Linked DNA regions of Homo sapiens: region 2 is linked to region 1. The links are contacts of gene promoters, found by promoter capture Hi-C in human tissues and cell types (Jung and others, 2019). All regions are on one chromosome and are shown on one strand. The core of a region is centred on a gene start or on the middle of the fragment in contact, and the rest is flanking DNA. Distances in the headings are between cores, read along the strand shown.

Region 1 (6,358 bases), core at 2,725-5,224:
CGCTTGAGTCCAGGAGTTCAAGACCAACCTGGGTAACATGGCGAGACCCCCATCTCTATTTTTTTTCTTAATGTTATAAATTTTATTATTAAAAAAAAATTAACAGAACTAGAAGAAACTGAAATATCTGTTGGCCAGGTATGGTGGCTCATGCCTGTAATCCCAGCACTTTGGGAGGCCGAGGCGGGTGGATCACCAGAGGTCAGAAGTTCGAGACCAGCCTGGCCAATGTGGTGAAACCCCGTCTCTACTAAAAATACAAAAATTAGCTGGGCATGGTGGTGCATGCCTTTAGTCCCAGCTACTCAGGAGGCTGAGGCAGGAGAATTGCTTGAACCTGGGAGGCGGAGGCTGCAATGAGCTGAGATCACACCACTGCACTCCAGCCTGGGCGACAGAGTGGACTCTGTCTCAAAAAGAAAAGCAACAACAACAACAACAAAAACCACACATAGGAGAAATAAAAGCAAAACAAATCACTGTACGGGTTACCTCTGGGGTGGAAGAAAGGACTGGCATGGAGCAAAGAGAAACAGAGGTTTCAATTATACACGGAATGTTTCCCTCTTAAGCAGATAGTAGAAACATAGGTGGTCATTATAATACTCCCCCCACCTCTTTTTTTTTTTTTGGTTTTGAGACAGTGTCATGCTCTGTCACCCAGGCTGGAGTGCAGTGGCATAATCACAGCTCACTACAGCCTCGACCTCCTGGGCTTCAGCGATCCTCCCACCTTAGCTTCCCAAGCAGCTGGGACCACAGCCATGTGCCACCACATCCGGCATTTTTTTTTTTTTTTTTTTTTTTGGCAGAGACGGGATCTCCCTATGTTGCCCAGACTGGTCTCCAACTCCTGGGCTCAAGCGATCCTCCTGCCTTGGCCTCTCAAAGTACTGGCATTTCAGGTGTGAGCCATTGCACCTGGCCCCTATCTCTTTTTTTTGTATGACTGAAGTACAGCATAAGTAAAAGAAAAGAAGGCTGAATAGAGCCAATAGATGTTAAGCAGAGGGACAACATAGGACCAGATGAAGAACTGCAAATTAAGGATGACAAGTTTTTTGTTGTTGTTGTTGTTGTTTGAGACGGAGTCTTGCTCTGTCGCCCAGGCTGCGTGCAATCACACAATCTCGGCTCACTGCAACCTCCGCCTCCCAGGTTCAGGCGATTCTCCTGCCTCGGCCTCCCGAGTGGCTGGGATTACAGGCCTGCGCCACCATGCTAATTTTTTTTGTATTTTTAGTAGAGTCGGGGTTTCACCATGTTGGCCAGACTGATCTCAAACTCCTGACCTCCCGATCCGCCCGCCTCAGCCTCCCAAAGTGTTAGGATTATAGGCGTGAGCCACTGTACCCAGGCTAGATTGTCCATATTCTTTAGATAGCTTCTCCAAGTGCCCAGTATAATATTCCAAAATAATGAATATTCAGTATATGCTTATTTATATACTATATATCTGTAGCTGGATACCTCAAATTTTATTTTTTTTAAAATGTCCTACTATATGGAAAAACTGCAATATATTTTTTTAAATACCTTGCTATTTAGCAAGTGAAAGCCTTGATCAGGTTAGTTTGGTAACCTCTCCCTGCATCCCAAACAATTACCTGGAGAATGCTTAGGACTGTTCTGAAAGTGGGAGCTAGCAAAAGCATGTAAAGATTGGCACAAAACATTCTCACCTTTAGAAAGACAACTCAAAATGTGCATTCTGCCAATAGGAAGTCAGTGCTATAATGTTATTTTTGCAAATAAAAAACAAAACATTCATCATAAGGCATCTGACCACGATAGCAATAGAGTTCAGCAGTAATCAAGTCGCAGCCCCACAACTACTTACGTCACGAAACTGAACCTTTCCAAGTTCTCCTAATTCACTGACACAACAATAAGCAGCCTCTGACTGTAGAAAAAGCTGGGCCAGTGTCATTTCTTCACTCCGGAAAAGCTCCCCCATGGTGGCAGAAGGTACCAGTCTAGTGAGTACCTGGATTTCTCTCCAACCTGAAGCAAAGAGAAAATGACATAACTTTGGAAATTACCACGAGGGCTAAGAGCAAATGACACCCCACTACGGCTCTTGCATTTACATTTCTAACACCCCATGAGGACAGGTCAACAACTGTTTTTGACACCCTGTCTAGAAAGATGGAAAGGAGAAATTGCAAAGGCAGTTCCTGAATTCTGTCCCACAGAGTGTCAGATGAAAAGTCACTTCCATTCCAGTCAACATCAGGATCAAATGACAATTATTTTGGGCAACTCAACTGATAAGAATGTATCCAGATTAAAGACAGGAACTGGGAACCTCAAACAACTCTTTAAATACCCAGGACACAATATTGAGGCAGTGAGTTTCACACTGCTCAATCTGTTTTTGCTAGTGCAGGAAACAAACAGAAGAGGCCTTCAATACCCTCTCATAAAGATGTCTGCCTTGTAACTATCCTTCTCCCTTCTACTGACAATGCGCATTTCTAAAAGCCCAAAGTTCTGGCACTATCCTAAAGCTATGGCTACACTAAAGGGTTTAATCTTCCAGATTCCTCAGAAAACAATATTTCCCCACTTAGGAATTCAAACAAATAACCGTCATCTGGAAAAAGCAACCAGTTTGCATATTAAGCTCAATTTCAAATCAAGCATGACAGGAACACACTGATAATGACAAAGCAGTTTTATCAAGCCACAGAGAATAAGCCTTCCACCTCTGCAGCTTTCTGTTTCTCAACCCTACCTTCAAGATTAATTACATTCTTCCATCTGTCAAATCTCATGAGCCAATAAAGGTTTCGTTTTAGTGCTGTCTTACTGTTGCCGGGTATGAGACAACTGGCGCTATCAGTGGTCCTGAAACTGCAATTATTTATTCTCGATCAGCTAATGTAAGGCACAGCCTGTCCAGTATCCAAACTCAGAAAAATGCACAGTATTTTTAGTGTCATAAGGGCATCTATACTGAGTACTGATAGATGAGTCTGACATCAAAGGAAGATTTACTCTTCTGGAAGGCTGGGAGACATTTTGAGAAATCTGAACGAACAAACCTTTGTGCATGTGATGTTCAAGACAGTAACACAAGCTCAGACATAAGCAAGGACTTCTCAAGAGAATATGCAGGCTGACTTTAAGATTCTGTACATCTGAATCATCCAAATCAGCTGTTACCGGCACCACCCTTAAACAAAGAGAGATTCTACAACCTCTAAACACATAAAATTAGGCCTGGTCAGCATAGTTCAGGAGCTGTGGATAATGATAAGCCTCCAACGAGTCGCCTCCGTCCTCCTGCTCTTTAATGATTATAGGTCTCCCAAGAATATCTCTATAGCAATGGAGGCTAACAGAAAACTAATTAGGCCAAAGTAGTTCTGGACGATCACAAAACAAAATATGAAGAAACAGCAATTCTGCAAAAGATGAGTCCAACTACAGCGCCCCCGCGCCCTGCCTAGAAGAATCTCACTCCTGTCATCCGGTCCTCGCCTCCTCCCACGGTATTCACCTGCTTCATTTCCTGTCTACCCAATGAGCAGGAATTCTCTGGACTCAGGCTCATCTACCTTGAGATGGGAAAAAAGGAGAGGAAAACCCCCAAACTGAGAAACCCTTTAAGAAGCCCCCTAAATTCTTCTGCCTATCCAATAACCTCCGGTTCCTCCGCCTACCCCTTAAAGCAGGGAAGAGATGCGGGGCTTCCAAAGGGCAGTGAGCCTCCGGTTCCTCAGGGCAGAGGAGGGGTGCCCAAGGAGGGGGCGAACCCCCATTTTATCTCGAAGACGTCAGATCCCCGCTAATTCCTCTGACAATCAAGGGGGCTCTTAGAAGGATTTCCTACGTCCATCGAGGGCCGCTCCCTGTTGCGCTAAACCTACAGCCCCCACTCACCTCCAAACTCCGCCACAGCAACCGCCACAGAAACCACCGCAGCCAAACCCGCACCCTCCGCGGCTCCAGGAGCAGCGCTTCGACGTGCTTGCGTCCGTAAAGCCCCGCCCCTGCGCCGCCGCCGGCCCCCGCCCCCGCAATGACCTCATTGCAGTTGGCCAATGGGGCGCAGCCTCGCCCGGGCTGCAGCAGTGCGGAGTCACGGGGGTCGCAGGCGAGACCCAGCGTGCTGACGCCATGTTGGCCCCTGTGCTGTATCTCCACGCTGGGGAGGGTTAGCGGGTGGGGCTGGAGGTGCAGGTGCTCGAGGCCTTAAGTTCCTGAGCCTCCCTGAATCCTTTTTCTTACCCCTTATACTGGGGTAGGTTGTCTTTTCTCTTTCTTTTTTTTTTTTTGAAGTCTCATTCTGTTGCTCAAGCAGGAGTGCAGTGGCGTGATCTCGGCCCACTGCAACCTCCACCTCCCGGGTTCAAGCGATTCTCCTGCCTCAGCCTCCCAAGTAGCTGGGACTACAGGCACGCACCACCATGCCCGGCTAATTTTTGTATTTTTTTTTTTTTTAAGTAGAGACGGGGTTTCACTATGTTGGCCAGGCTGAGTCTCGAATTCTGACCTCGTGATCCACCCGCCTCGGCCTCCCAAAGTGTTGGGATTACAAGCGTGAGCCACCACGCCCGGCCTTTTTTTTTTTTTTTTTTTTTTTTTTTTAGATGGTCTGTTTCCCAGGCGGGAATGCAGTGGCGCGTTCTCGGCTCACTGCAGCCTCCGCCTCCCGGGTTCAGGGGATTCTCCTGCCTCAGCCTCCCTAGTAGCTGAGATTACAGGCACGCACCACGCCACCCGGCTATTTTTGTATTTTTTGTAGAGATGGGGTTTCGCCATGTTGCCCAGACTGGTCCTGGCCTCCACCCGCCTCGGCCTCCCAAAGTGCTGGGATTACAGGTGTGAGCCACCGCGCCCGGCCCTCTCTTTATTTTCATATCCAAAGAATTAATTCACACATACGCACCCAAATAATTAATGTCTTCTCTCTTTATTTTCATATCCAAAGAATTCACACACACACTCAAATAATTAATACGCAGACACATATACCACCCTTTCTCTTTTCCCTTATTTTACAGATGAGAACATTTGAGCCCCAGACTGGGGAGCGGCTAGCTTTAGATCCTGTAGTAGAGTCTTTAACGGGGTCTCATTTGCATAAGTATGGAAAACCTCTCTTTAAATGGTACATGGTTCATGCCTTCCAGCAACTTCCCCGGGTCTATTTTTCTCTGTTTAACAGGAAAAACCTCATCAGACCATATGTTGTGAAAGTACATTTCAGTCTTGTTTGGTAGATTCATGTGGGCTCAATTGACCACTTAGGAGTTTTCAATTCCTCAAATTTATTTTAAAAACATTTTTTATGGCTTGTACTCAACTTGTAAATTAAATATTGAAAAACATTTTTTAAACGCAAAAGTGATGTCTATTATTTTTTAAATGCCATTATCAAATATTGATATTGATTCCCTTTTCTTGCCCTTTTAAAGAAGAGTAGGGATCTCAAGTCGTTTGTGATAACCAGAATTGTATCAGGAAAAACTCAGAAAACCGGTTATTCTGTCTTCCTGGGTGGTGGAACCCTGTTGAAATTCAAGTGTAATGAGGGAGATATTCCAGATAAAAACTTGTTGCTGATAATTTTGTCAACCTGACAAAAACATCATCAAACCTGCTTTACCAGCCTAAACAAAATAAGGGGACAAAAATGGACGTTTTATTTGAATTTATTGTCTCATATTGTGAGTGAAGATATAACCTGACTTCAATACAACCTTCTTAAGACACAGAGTCTTGGAGAGACCCATACCCTCCTTCTCCCTGCTCCCTAGCTCTCAACCCTTCTGGCAAGACAGATCGGGACCCACATTTAAAAGCCTGCCAAGTTAGAGAAAACTGTTACACAATATCATTTCCTTCCTCTGAGACTTAAAAAAAAATTAACCTCAGTCAGCTGCTTGCTAACCACAAATTTTTCATACTCCACTTTTAAGACAGCCTTTCCTGTGGACTTACTTCAATTCCCTTGAACTCTTTTCACGGCTTCTTTGAAAGAATATTGTTTCAGAACTCCTTTTCTGTTTGCTTCCATCTCCTGCCATCAATCTTTCCTCAGTGTTCTATTTATTTTCCCTCCATGCTGTCTTCCTTGATGGTCTTGAGTGTTGTCAAGCTTAAACGTTTATGTGTAGGACTCTTATCTGTTTTTCCACCTGACTTCCTTCTTCAAGACTCAGAAATGGAATTTCATACTGCCTGCTTGATAGTGCCTTTTAGGCAGCAGATGCTTGCTGAGGGCCTACTGTGTGCCAGAGAGGGGTACTAGGTGCTGGGGATAGAAAATGAAACAGACATGCTTCTTATCCTTGGAGAGCTCATGGTTCAGTGAGAAAGAAACTTCCCAAATGGCAAGAGAGAGAGG
Region 2 (6,317 bases), core at 933-3,432, 160 kb after region 1:
TGAGCCTTCCCTGGCAAAAGCAGATCAATAGTCTGTGTTTCTGCTGAGTGAACTTGACAAATGGGACTGAGAAGACACTGCATGATAGATCCAAACCCAACCTGAATCCAAACCTAATCCGCCACCATGCACAGGAAACAGAAAAGCCAGGCACGGGATCAGAAATACTGTCGACAGTCTAAGGACTTGGGTAGGAATAACCGCCCAAAATCTTCCGTTTCCATTCTCAGAAGGAGCTGCCCTTCTTCTAGGGCCAGTCTGGGATAGATTCAGATGAGGGGAAATTCTCTTAGAATTATCCTGTCAGTATTGGCTGGGCACCGTGGCTCACGCCTATAATCCTAGCACTTTGGGAGGCCGAGGCAGGCAGATCACTCGAGGCTAGAGGTTGCAACCAGCCTGGACAACACGGCACAACCCTGTATCTACTAAAACTACAAAAAAAAAAAATTAGCCAGGCATGGTGGTGCATGTCTGTAGTCCCAGCTACTGAGGAGGCTGAGGCATGAGAATAGTTTGAACCTGAGAGGCAGAGGTCGCAGTGAGATGAGATCGTGCCACTGCACTCCAGCCTGGGCAATAATAAATAAACAAACAAACAAACAAACATTTAGAATTATCCTGCAAGTATTTACATAATAGCTGCAATATTCAGGCATTGTGCTGGTCTCAGTGTACACAAAGCACTGACAGTGCAGGGTTAGGAAGAGAGCTTAAATAGCTACAATAGAATTCTAAAAAAATCAGCTGGGCGTGGTGGCCTGCACCTGTAGTCCCAGCTATGCGGGAGACTGAGGCACAAGAATTTCTTGAAGCTGGGAAGCAGAGGCTGCAGTGAGCCGAAATCATGCCACTGTGCTCCAGCCTGGGCGACAGAGCAAGATTGTCTCAAAAAAAAGAAAAGAAAAAGAAAGAAAAGAAAAGAAGAAAGGTCTAAAATCAATGACCTAAGGTCTACCTTAAGAAATCAGATTAAAAAGAGTAAAGGAAAAAGCAGTTTGACACCCCTTGTTCTCACTAAGATGAGGTGTTACATTTCTGGGGTCAGTCTGGAATGGGACATATTAATAGATGGGCCATGTCCCATGACTCCTCAAATTGTACCTGGGGATAGTTCCTTTCAAGCTAATTTGATTTTTTAATTTCCCCACATCTTTATCATGGGAGCCATTGGCGAACTACAGACCTAGGATACAGGAGAATTTTCTACTGTCACCCCTTCCCCCAGGCCCACATCCTATCCGTGAGGCTCAAGAAGGCCCACTTTGGAAGTTCCACCTCTCCCAGCCTGGTTCAACCAGAAGACTTCCAATCCAAGTCCTCCCTCTGGTTAGGGAGCACTGTTCATATTTACCTATTTGTGTCGATATTTACAGAATACATACCATTAAGGAGAGAATACTGGTTAATAAAGTACAGGAGTTTTATGATATATCTCTAGTTGAGATCCAGTTCTGTAATTTACAGGCAACCTAGGCCAAGTTACTTGTTCTCTTTGAACCTCACTTTTACCATCTGCAAAAGGGGGGATAACACAACTGTTCACTTCATAGGCTTGTTGAGAGGGTTGAATTAAATAATGTGTGCCAAGTGTGACCCACGGCAGGGGCTCAATCACCGGGAGCCATTGCTTCTACCAGGCTTTGGGCAAAGTGCTGAGGAGATGGACACTGACCCAGCTCTACCCTCTAGGAGTCCATAGAATGTTCCTCACTCCCACCCTCCGGATGCACACTGCCTCCACCGCGCCTCACCTTGGATCCTCAGGCTCTCCTGGTACTGGATGATGAAGTACTCCTGAGTCTGCTGCAGTTTCTTCAGCTCATTCTCTGTGTCCTGCGTGACCAGTCGCAGCTCCTCAAATGTCTGGTTGATCTGAAGGTGCTTCTGGGACATGGCGTCAACCAGGATCCCAGCCGGAGAGCTGCACTGGAGACAGATGGAATGGAAATAACTCGGGGAAGAGAGGATGGGAGAAGACCACAGGCATTAGGAAACACCAATACTACAGACCCCAAACCCCAAACCCCAAACTAGGGTAAGAAGGGAAACTAGGGCAAGAAGGAAGGATCATTTGCATCAGAAGGAGTCATTTGCCAGAATTGGGATAGAAAAGGGAAAGAGAAAGGAGAAACAGGTGACCTGGCAGATAACGGCAGATAGTAACACCTTCAAAGTCCAAATATCTATGTCAGAGCTGCCCTCCACTAGAGTATTCCAAACAGGGTCCATCTAATTTCCTCCCAGGGACTAGAACTCAACACGTCCCAGGTGTCACCTGGGTTTTCCCACTAATGATGATGACCCCTCGCTCTACATTTATTTGCTGACTCAATACCATGGACTGCAGTAGATCCTAGGGACATAGGGAGGAACAGGGCTGTGTGAACACACACCATCTCACTTAAGACCCCCTTGTGACTGAAGGAAGAGGGAAGAGGCCGAAACTCTCACAGGCATCCTGGAGACCCCGAAATGAAGTTAGAGGGGAGGCATCAACAAGCTCCCCTTGGATCCAGCCATTCCTTCAGCACATTCAGGAGAATCGCTTGAACCCAGGAGGGGGATGTTGCAGTGAGCCGAGATTGCGCCACTGCACTCTAGCCTTGGCAACACAGCGAGACTCCGTTTCAAAAAAAAAAAAAATAGAGAGAGAGGGGTAGAAACCAGGTCACAAAGGGAGGGAGCACATGGATGAAGAGGAACAAGTCCTCAGAGGCTTTCCAATGAACTGTTCTCAGAATAAAATCCAAACCCCTTCCCATGGTGTCTGCTGGCCATAGCCCTGCCTACCTCCAACCCCAGCTCGCTGGGAATGTGTGCTTTCTGTTTCTGTTCCTTGAACACACAGGCATGTTCCTGCCCTGGGGCCCTTGCACTTATTGTTCCAACAGTCTGGAACATTCTGGCATCAGATCCTCCTGAGGCAAAGCACTTTAACTGGTACCATTGCAGAGGGGTCATCTCTGACGAGCCAATTCACAGTAGTCCTATCTAAAAGTGTGTTGTTCTTGTATTTGCTTACATGTTTCTGTCTGTCTCCCTGCACAAGGATGTGAGGTTCCCAAGGGCTAGGACCTTGCCTTTCCTGTGAACTACAGAATCCCCAAGCCCTAGAATGCCAGGGGTGTTCAGGAACAGTTGTATGGTTGGAGGAAGGAATGAGCTCCCAGACCATGACAGCACCAGCACCATGGACATGGATTTGTCAATGAGGCTGAAGTCATTTTTAGGTTTGCAGATAGCTCTGTGATGGCAACAAGTCAGGGACACAGGGGCTGTGCTGGAAGACCCTTTGTGACCTGGTTTCTAACCCCTATTTTTTTTTTTTTTATACAGAGTCTCGCTCTGTTGCCCAGGCTGGAGTGAAGTGGTGCAATCTCAGCTCACTGCAACATCCCCCTCCTGGGTTCAAGCAATTCTCCTGCCTCAGCCGCCCGAGTAGCTAGGATTACAGGCGCCCGCCACCACGCCTAGCTAATTTTTGTATTTTTTAGTAGAGACTGGGTTTCACCATGTTGGCCAGGCTGGTCTCGAACTTCTGACGTCAGGTGATCCGCCCACCTTGGCCTCCCAAAGTGCTGGGATTACAGATGTGAGCCACCACGCCTGGCCCTCTCTATCTATTTTTATCCATGGCAACTCCCCACTTGGTTCCTTCTCCCCAGTTACACTGACCACTTACAAGTCTTCCAATGTGATAAGAAGATTCATGCCCTCCTGCTCTCGCAGCTGCTGTCTTTTCATTAGAAAATTCATCCCTCCTCTCCTGCCTTTCTCCACTGTAGCTCAGACATGCCTGTCCACAGGACGCTCCCCTGCCAGCCTGCCCCAATCTGAGTTGGGTGCTTTTTCCACCTAGGCCCCCTTAGCACTCAGCTCATCTCTAGAGAATCCATCACTGCCAGAATTCCTTCCAGGCAAGAACCAGGCCTTTATGTGTTTCTCTGATGATAGCCCAGCATCGGACACACAGTAAGACCTCAATAAATGTCTACTGAGTAAATCCTGAAATCCATGTCCACAACAATAAATACGTAATAGGCCGGGCGTGGTGGCTCATGCCTGTAATCCCAGCACTTCGGGAGGCCGAGGCAGGTGGATCACTTGAAGTCAGGAATTCGAGACCAGCCTGGCCAACAGGGTGAAACCCTGTCTCTACTAAAAATACAAAAATTAGCCGGGCATGGTGGTGGGCCCCTGTAATCCTAGCTACTTGGGAGGCTGAGGCATGAGAATCTCTTGAACCCAAGGGGTGGAGGTTGCAGTGAGCCGAGATCACGCCACTGCACTCCAGCCTAGATGATAGAGTGAGACTCAGTCTCAAAAATAAATAAACAAACAAACAAATAAAGAAAGAAATAATAAATATGACCTGTGCTCCGGTCACTGTTCTAAGATTTCTGTCACGTCATGTTGTGAAATTCATTTTGCTCTATTGCAGATAGTACAGCACTGTGCCATTGTCCATGTAGATGCCCAGTGCCTTTATTATTTCAGAACTGGGGAGATGTGTCCCTGTTACCCCTCCCTGGGCCTCACTTCTCTGAGCCTGCCTGTGTTAGTTCTTCTGACACAGATAGGTATGATTGCTATCTCCATTTTACAAGAGTAGGAACAGGCCGGGCACGGTGGCTCACGCCTGTAATCCCAACACTTTGGGAGGCCGAGGCGGGTGGATCATGAGGTCAGGAGTTCAAGACCAGCCTGGCCAACATAGTGAAACCACGTCTCTACTAAAAATACAAAAAAAATTAGCCGGGCATGGTGGTGGGCACCTGTAATCCCAGCTACTCGGGAGGCTGAGGCAAGAGAATTGCTTGAACCTGGGAGGCAGAGGTTGCAGTGAGCAGAGATCACATCACTGCACTCCAGCCTGGGCAACAGAGCAAGACTGCATCTCGGGGGGGAAAAAACAGTAGGCGCCAAGCGTGGTGGCTCACGCCTGTAACCCCAGTACTTTGGGAGGCCGAGGTGGGCGGATCACGAGGTCAGGTTGAGACCATCCTGGCTAACACAGTGAAACCCCATCTCTGCTAAAAATACAAAAAATTAACCGGGCATGGTGGTGGGCGCCTGTAGCCCCAGCTACTCGGGAGGCTGAGGCAGGAGAATGGTGTGAACCTGGAAGGCAGAGCTTGCAGTGAGCCGAGATCACGCCACTGCACTGCAGCCTGGGTGACAGAGCAAGAATCCGTCTCAAAAAAAAGAAAAAAGAAAAAAGAAAAAAAAACAGGAACAGAGGCTCAGAGAGATTAAGCAACTTGCTCAAGTCACACAGCTAGTAAGTGGTAGAGCCAGGGACTGGATCCAGGGGGTCACTCCACCCCGGCGTGCAATGCTGCCACCTCTTACACTTGCCCACGTCCCTCATCTTCTTGGTGCTCTCCTCGTGCTGCTGTTTTATATAAACACAGTTGTTTCTGGAGAGAAAGGCATATGGAGGGACTTCTCAACACTCCTCCCCATCCCCAAGGGACACTCACATTGTTGGCTTCTCGGACCAGCCTCTGTTCATTGTACAGAATGTGCCGGATGCAGCGGACCAGCTCCAGGGGGCAGCGGTCATATGTTTTCTGAAAGAATCCAACAGTAGCCTCCAGCGCCATCCTCTGCTCCAGCCATGCCAGCCCCATGCTATGCCCAGCCCTTCCTCTCCTTCAGCCTCTGCCTCAGCTTTTCCCAGGGAGCCTCAGGAACTATCCCCAGACACCTCTATATCTCTGTTCCTCATCCTCATCTTCCCCTCCAAGATCTTCATATCTGGTTTGGAGCGAATTAAAAACCCACAGTTTATGAGGCACTTTCTCTTTTTTTTTTTTTTCTTTTTGAGATGGAGTTTTGCTCTTGTTGCCTAGGCTAAAGGTGCAATGGTGTGATCTCAGCTCACTGCAACCTCCACCTCCCGGGTTCAAGCGATTCTCCTTCCTCAGCCTCCTGAGTAGTTGGGATTACAGGCATGTGCCATCACGCTCGGCTAATTTTGTATTTTTAGTAGAGGCGGGGTTTCTCCACGTTGGTCAGGCTGGTCTCGAACTCCCGACCTCAGGTGATCCACCCGCCTCGGCCTCCCAAAGTGCTGTGATTACAGGTGTGAGCCATCATACCCAGTCTTATGAAGCACTTCCAATCTACCGTATCTTTTGACTGTAACACAGGGGTCCCAAACCCCTGGGCCATGGACTGGTACAGGTCGGTGGTCTGTTAGGAACTGGACCACACAGCAGGAGGTGAGCGGCGGTGAGCAAGTGAGTGACGCTTCATCTGTATTTACAGCTGCTGCCTATTGCTCGCATTACAGCCTGAACTCTGCTTCC

The links. Contacts are between HindIII fragments. The study calls those that stand out against the background at their distance.
Region 2: a fragment that was not itself captured here is called in contact with the fragment with the promoter of ATP6V0A1 in region 1 in 1 of the 25 tissues and cell types used here (mesenchymal stem cells).

Annotation. Positions count from the first base shown.
Region 1 is chr17:42,456,494-42,462,851 of GRCh38, reverse strand. ATP6V0A1 (ATPase H+ transporting V0 subunit a1) reads right to left here and starts at 3,974. Exons shown (of 22, transcript NM_001130021.3): 1 at 3,889-3,974; 2 at 1,841-2,004. The coding sequence starts at 1,957. RefSeq lists a silencer at 3,905-4,114 and an enhancer at 4,265-4,354. The HindIII fragment of the contact is 16,608 bases long and covers 1-6,358 here.
Region 2 is chr17:42,291,231-42,297,547 of GRCh38, reverse strand. It overlaps STAT5A (signal transducer and activator of transcription 5A), which reads right to left. Exons shown (of 19, transcript NM_001288718.2): 4 at 5,487-5,576; 5 at 1,755-1,929. Among named protein-coding and RNA genes, the nearest start is that of STAT5A, 5.9 kb to the right of the region's middle. The HindIII fragment of the contact is 8,359 bases long and covers 1-6,317 here.